Linked DNA regions of Homo sapiens: region 1 is linked to region 2. Evidence: promoter capture Hi-C in 16 types of primary human blood cells and fetal thymus (Javierre and others, 2016). All regions are on one chromosome and are shown on one strand. Each heading gives the region's core, a stretch centred on a gene start or on the middle of the fragment in contact. The rest is flanking DNA. Distances are from core to core; before and after follow the strand shown.

Region 1 (3,493 bases), core at 662-3,161, 1.5 Mb before region 2:
GCAAACAACTTTTTGAAGGGAAGGGGAATCCCTTGGAGTATAAGACTGTGGGTCTCCAAGCTGGTGAGAAGCAGTTAAATGCAGTAAAACCTGGAAGGCTAAATGTGATTGTATTCAAATGCACGACTTGCCAGTCTGATTTCAATTCCCACATTAGCAACATCACTTCAGGCAGTGAACGAAAAAGAAAGTGTAAGCTTTAAAAAAAATCGTCATTATTTTCTAAACTATATCACTTTGGAAATGCTCTGAGTTTTGTTACGTGGCTCATGATGACTTTTTTTTGAAACTTTCGGAAGATGGCAATTATACTCTCAAGGTATATAAGAATACTTTGTTCTAACTATAAAAATAAAGTTTAATATCTTAGACATCATCCATTAGAAGCATAAAAGAAAGTATATCATAGGAATTTCAACTGGAGTGCAGTGGCGCAATCTTGGCTCACTGCAACCTCCGCCTGCCGGGTTCAAGTGATTCTCCCGCCTCAGCCTCCTGAGTAGCTGAGACTATCTTTTTTATGCTTTCGTGCTTTCCTTTTTTTCTTCGCTTATACCCAGTTAATCTTAATTATCCAAGACACTAATAATGCACATGAGGTGGGGTGGGGAGTTGGGGAGTGATGACAATCTTTAGGGAAACAAAATTTAAATAATTTAAGTGGCCTAAAATAATTCTCACTCTACTTCAAAACTGCATTTTGTAAATTCACAGCTTTTCTCTTTACTATACCTGAAAATGGCCCAAGGAAGTCCTATTCTGAAGAACCTGGTTTTGGTGTATCCCAGATAAACGCCTTCTACCATTGATTGATCCTCCCTGGCTCAGTCATTTGCATGTTATCTGCTTCCTCTAACTACTGGTGTCAAAGGCCTTTAGCTGAGCTAGTCTGGCTTCCATCCTATGCCTTCTCTTTTCTAAGTTTCTTCTTGCTCAACTATTTCCAACTGTATGATTTGGCTCATCTTCCTTACTACATTTTTCATGTCATCAGTTTAAGTTGTCGAGTGGCACTAAATCTTAAAACAAATCAGAAGAATTATTAGGGTAAACTGAAAACACCAAGTAATCTCTCTTAGCTTCTTTTAGTTAGATGTTCAATTTTGAAGTATCTGGATATCTCTTTAGGGCATATACTTCTAATAACTAACTGCCCTTCTCCTTGAAGACACTATTTTAGCAACAGCGGGAACTTAAAGTCCCATAATGTCTGTGCTGACACATTTTAGGCATCGTCTAGGCTAACCCAAGCTCCTTATCTTACAAATCAATAAACTGAGCCTCAGAGGGAAAATTTTTTCCTAAGATCTTTACCCAATAAATGATTTCTCACCTTGCGACACTTTTAAATGCTCTTTTCTTTCTAATCATAGTCTGTTACCACTTCAATTACTCCTTCACCAACCGGTTTTTAAAGGAAAAAGATGATTAATACCCTCAGATGATGGTATACTTCCTTAAGAGTTTTTTTCAGGGAGTTATCTTTTTTATTCTTGTGATCTCAAGTTCCAAATTATTCGTGCATTTTAACTGCATACCACGAATGTACGTAAGTAAGGGATTTCCATAAGTCTACATACTAGACGAAAAAACCCTGAGATAATAAAGTGGCTTAGTAAGGAGTTTGTGTCTTAATCCTAGTTCCGCTACTGATTACCTGTGACAAGTCACTTCAGGTCTCTTTTTTTCACAAGGAAGATAAGAAAGGTGGGCAAGAGCCATGATTCTCAACTTTCCTTGGATTCACTGAAGGCTGAAATAAGGTCCAAATATGTAATGAAAACCGAGTTTGCTTACTCATGACAAAGCTGCACAGGCTAAAATGCCAAGCTTACTTTGAAGTCACACTGGGTAGCTTGCACTGATCAAGTTCTGATTGGCATATATACATGTCTTCAACTAAAAATTGCAAAATTAATTACTTTTAGTTTGAAAGACAAAACTGTAAACATATTTGGCTTACAGGGAAATAATGACAAGAATGAAGCTTTCAAAAGTACAGAGGTGGGAGTGGAGGGAGGAAAAAGCAGGTTTGGCACAAAGAAACAACAGTTCACGTAAATATAAAATTTCACCAAGGAACTTCTGTGAAAGTGTCCAGATGCAAAGCACTCTATGTCAAATCTCAATTCTTGAAAACAGCACTTGACAAACACAAATTAGGCACTCGGGGTTGGATTATATTTTTTCTTTATATTCACATTAAGTATCCAGCTAGATTATATTGCACAGAGAACTTAAAAGAGGGGTTCTGCAAGGAGTTTAAAATCTCTTGATGCACAATACAATAGTTCATTCAGCCATGTTCAACCTGTACACTTAAAAGGGCATTAGCAGGGGATTACACTTCATTTTCAATCTACAGAGACTGAAATCTGAAGGCACTGCCAACTGCTGCCTCACAGTCTCACCGTGCAACTACCAAAGACGGAGGCTGTGTGCCACCAAAGGGCCCTGGATTGGGGCACAGGAGATGTGAGTGCTAATCCAGCTGGCCCCAGGGGCAATTCCCTATACCCAGAACAGTACTTTGCACGTAACTGATGCTCAATGAATGTCAGCTGAGAGGAAATGCAAAAATATCCACCATGTGCCCATTTATATTATATAGTAAACACAAAGATCTTTGTGTCCCTGCCCTCAAAAAACTAAAATCCAATTATGTAAAACATGGACCGTTTGTTGGGAGGAAGAGAGTGAATACTGCTTGGCAATTATTATGAGGCAAAGGATATACAGTGGTTATCTTGGAAAAGCCTTGCAAAGTAAGCCAGGTACCTCTATTTGACACATAGAAAACCAGGCTAAGAGAAAGCATGTAATTTGTTCAAGATCACACAATTTGTAAAATGAGAAGCCCAGATTTCAATCCAGGTCTGCAAAGTTCACATTATTTGCAGTATGCAACACATTCATACACATCAAGGCAGCCCAGGACGAGACAGGGATTTGGGTCCAAGTTTTACTTCTGCTATTAAGCTGTTGCCTATCTCTCTAGAGAGAACATTTCTCTGCATTTTTTTCACCGGCACGATTGGAGAGCAGAGAGGTGTTGGTAGGAGGGTTAATGAACTAGATCTGTGGTTTTTTGGTTTGGTTTGGTTTGGATGGGCGGTGATCAGAATTCTTCTGGGCCAGGACTTGTTCTAATGTGGTTGTTTCCCTTCCCTGCTCTTAGAAATTATTTGAGAATGGTACCTTTAGCTATTAATGGAAATATACCTCTCAAGTGAATGGGAGCAGAAAGATATGCCGGCTCCAAGCTCCCTCCTAGCAAGCTGAAGCTGAGAGTCTGACCCTGCTGAGGGGATGCTACTGAAAGTTGAGAGACAACTTACTCACGGATCCATGTTTCCCTCCCAGCTGGGTGCTCTGTACCCACTGGGTGCTCCTCGTTTGAGAGAAATGGGGATGTGTGTCCTGCATTACTTAAGCGGCCTGCCTGGGGCTCGTCTCCAGATTATAGAGACCTTCAAGAGAAGTTCGTGGTGTA
Region 2 (3,979 bases), core at 739-3,238:
TGCACCACCATGCCTGGCTAAATTTTTTATTTTTAGTAGAGACAGGGTCTCGCTTATGTTGTCCAGGCTGGCCTCAAACTATCCTCCCGCCTAAGCTTCCCCAAAGTACTGGGATTACAGGTGTGAGCCATGCGCCTGGCCTATTACAAATTATCAATCTCACAAATCCTTGATATCTTGCGAGAAAACTAAAAAGTACACCAACATATACATAACTGTAAAAACTGCATTGGAAGAAGAGTGCTATGAGAAGGGAGTATTGAGAAATGTAATTTAAAAGGGAAAGGGGTCTAAGAACTGTATCTCAGATAAGTGTACAGCATGTGCAAAAAAAAAAAAGCCTTAAGGGAATCACACAACTTATTGGAGTATTTTGGGTTTGAGTTCGGATAATTTCTAGGACGAAATAAATTCAGTTGAGTTAGAAATGGAATCTCTCAGTATCCAAACTACAGAACAACTGCTTAAATTGTTAAGATTTCCTGTTGGATTTAACAGGGAAATGGGTTAAGTGTCCTAAAATTTAATGAGTCGAAATCATTTGTTTTGGTTTAAACTAATTACCAACTCAACTCATTCTGGTGATAGGGTCTCTCTCTCCCTCTTTCACTCCAAAGGCCTCCTCAAGCATTCCTCAAGGGTGTTCCCACCTCGGGGCCCTGGAGCTTTCTGCTCCTTCCACCAATTTCCCTAAATACCAAGAGTGACTAGATTTATCAAAAGGAATGAGCCTCCCAGTCACAATATCCACTCGGCAGCTTCATCTATTTTTAGCTGCCAGTCTCCTATAGGTATTTATATGTTTGGTCCCTGAATTACAGCGTCATCAATTCCTAGACCTCAGAATTCAGGCTTGTAACTTGCCCTCTCTGAACTTTAGCTCTGAATTCATCTATTTAATGAGATCGATATCTTCCTCAAAGGAAAGCAAGTAAACAATCAGCATATTGCTGGGCTCAGGAAAATCACTCAATACCTGGTAGCTTTTGTTATACAGCACAATTATTAATGAAAACTACTCATTTGGGTGCCAGAAGGCATCCCAGGTGACTTGTGGTAGATAATCACACCTTCTTTAAACCTCCTATTTAAGGCAGAATATAATGCCCTGACTCAATAGGCAATAAAACTCAACTGAACTAAATATCTCAACCTTCATTTATCTACTTACAACAAACTTCTGCCATTCACTAACAACTGGGGCATACAAGAATAAAGAATGAAAATAACATTTACTGAGTGCTTAATATGGGCCACACGCGGGGTCACATAAATACTTTGCGTATTCCCCACGTCATTTAATAATCGCAAGAACCTAGTAATGAACCCAGTTTTACAGATGAGGAGCCTGCCCAAAGTTGCTCAGCAAGTAACTGTCAGAGGCAGCACTAGATCCCAGGGGCTGACTCCCGAGTCCAGGTTCTCAACACTGAATCGGAGATTTGGTTCCAGGCCTGGAGGGGTTCACAATCTGCAGCTGTCACTGAAGAGGATCTACAGGGCAAAACCCCAACCCGAAGGGCACCGGCAAGAACTGGTCCAACGCGACGCAGTACACAGGCCTCTGCGTAAGGGGCGAGCGCGGAGCTGGTACCTTTGCCTGAGGTTTCCGCGCGGGGCTGTGGCGCCGACGGATCCATCCGGCCAGGGGGAGGGGCCGAGCCCGGCTGCATGTAACACCCGGAAGGCGGCGGAGGACAGCAAGGTGGCTGGCCGGCAGGCCAATGGCGGCCAACGCCACTTCCGGCCGCCCTCCGAGCATCGCTCTTCGGCAACCCGAAGCCACAGGATGGAGGAGGGGGATCCCAGCAAAGGTAGCGACTAAGGGGACCCAAGCAGAACGGGAGGGCGACGTCCGGAGCGGCGGCAGAGCCAGGGGACGCTGTGTGAGGCTGGCAAAGCGGTGTTCACCTAGTTCTCTCGGGCTCCGCCGCCGCCGGAGGAGGACAGGAGGCCGGCAAGGCGACCCCCAAATCTTCCTAGGCTCTGACTTCCGTCTCCTAACCCCCGCAAATTCCAACCCGGTCTTGGAAAATCCCGCGAGAACGGGCTCCCGAATTGTCATTGGGATCTCGCGAGAACGAAATCTTCCTTTCTGTGGGCGGAGCAATCTTCCCGATGTCTCTTCCCTCTGAGGCCAGTAGCAGGAAGGGCCTCGGGAGTTGCGAGTGTCGCGAGGTTTGAGGTCGCTCGGTGGGCCGGGCGCTGTGCGAAGCTAGAAATAACTGGGGGCATGGAGAATGCGGTGGCTGTAAAGGGCCGCTGAGGCGGTGGAGGCCTGGCAGAGAGCGTCCCCGCGGTCGCGGCTTCTGGCTTCTCTGTGGAGCTTGGTTCTTCCGTGGTGGTGCAGCACCCCAGGAACTTCAGGAACCAGTCCTTCCTTGGAGAGCTCCCCGGGACAGCCACGGGGGCCAAGTGAAACTAGCGCGTTTTCTTGGATCCTACACTTTATAGTGAGTCATAAATACTTTAAATACAAAGCCAACAACATTTGCTGCAAATAAACGTAAAAATACTGTTAAAGTGTAAAGTGTTTTCCTCCGTACCATCTGACGTTTCTGGCGGTTCGTTGAACGCGAGAGAACGCTGAGCCGTCTGCACTGAGCCCGGGAGCATCTTCAGGGCAGCGCCGCCCACGCGCGAGGTGAATGAAGGACACGGCCTCTTGACACTCCCAGGCAGCACAGATAGACGGATCCGTAAGTGGCTCCCGCGCATGTTAAAATTTGTATACTGTAAGGTATTTCATGGATTGAGTGAAATACCTGACAGGGCCTGTATCCGTTCCCTATTGCCACAATAACCAAAAACCACAAACTTTGTAGCTTGAAACAGCACAAATTTATCATCTGACAGACAATGCATTTATTATCTCACGGTTCTGTAGATCAGAAGTGCTACCTGGGTGTCACCCGGGCTGCACTCCTTTCTGGTGACTCCACAGGACAATCCTTAGCTTGCCTTTGCCAGCTTCTGTCCACATTCCTTGGCTTTGGTCCCTTCCTCCATCTTCAAAGCCAGTGATATGCCATCTCTCTGAACCTTCCATCCTCAAGTCTACCGCTGATTGCAGCTGGAAAAGATTCTGAGGGCTCACCTGAGTAATCCAGGATCATCTTCCCATTTCCAGGTCTCTGCCCTTGATCACATCAGCAGAATCCTTTTGCCATGTAAGCTAATATATTCACGAATTCCGGAAATTAGGAGATAAACATCTTTGGGGGATCATTATTCTGCCTACAGTAGTGTCTTAAGAAAACAATATGGCTGTTTGCAAATAGATCTCAATTCTATGGCAGATACTAAAAACTAGTAGTATGTGTTCATAAAATGCTTCATTTAAAATATGACTTGTTTGCTTACCAGCAGGCAATAACTTTAAGCCTAAGTGAAACATCTAACTCAGCCATCTATGTGTGAGTTGTTGGCCAGATCACTTCTCCGTGTTTTATTGTACTCACCTATCACCATTACAGTGAAGCTAATAATAGTAAACTACCTAAAAATGGTAATTGTAAAAAATTAGATAATTAAGTAAAACTCCTAAAACAGTAGCTGGTCATAGTAAGGAATATATGTGTTGTTATTACTATTATTATCAATGGAATGCATCCACTTGAAAGTTGCATTCTACATAGCCATTATGTCAGTTTAATATTTTGGCTAATAGGCCGGGCGCGGTTGGCTCATGCCTGTAATCCCAGCACTCTGGGAGGCCAAGGTGAGCGGATCATGAGGTCAAGAGATCAAGACCATCCTGGCCAATATGGTGAAACCCCGTCTCTAATAAAAATACAAAAATTAGCTGGGCGTAGTGGCACATGCCTGTAGTCCCAGCTACTCAGGAGGCTGAGGCAGGAGAATCGCTTGAACCCGGGAGGTCTATAGAGGTTGCAGTGAGCCGAGTTTGCGCCACCGCACTCTAATCTGGCGACACAGCGAAAAACACTACTAATTATAATTGTAATTCTTGATTCTG

The links. Contacts are between HindIII fragments. The CHiCAGO score rates a contact against its expected background, and 5 or more counts as called.
Region 1: a fragment that was not itself captured here is called in contact with the fragment with the promoter of ERCC6L2 in region 2 in 1 of 17 cell types (total B cells); the score reaches 7.7 in total B cells.

What each region holds. Positions count from the first base shown.
Region 1 is chr9:97,412,690-97,416,182 of GRCh38, reverse strand. All of the region lies in intron 1 of TDRD7 (tudor domain containing 7), which reads right to left. Among named protein-coding and RNA genes, the nearest start is that of TDRD7, 2.3 kb to the right of the region's middle. RefSeq lists enhancers at 3,241-3,493, 3,105-3,493 and a silencer at 3,442-3,493. The HindIII fragment of the contact is 157 bases long and covers 1,833-1,989 here.
Region 2 is chr9:95,873,700-95,877,678 of GRCh38, reverse strand. ERCC6L2 (ERCC excision repair 6 like 2) reads right to left here and starts at 1,988. Exons shown (of 19, transcript NM_020207.7): 1 at 1,595-1,988. The coding sequence starts at 1,640. It overlaps ERCC6L2-AS1 (ERCC6L2 antisense RNA 1), which reads left to right and starts at 1,702. Exons shown (of 3, transcript NR_023390.1): 1 at 1,702-1,814. RefSeq lists enhancers at 1,778-1,837, 1,898-2,127, 1,259-2,133, 2,268-2,367, 2,408-2,457 and 1 more. The HindIII fragment of the contact is 4,005 bases long and covers 98-3,979 here.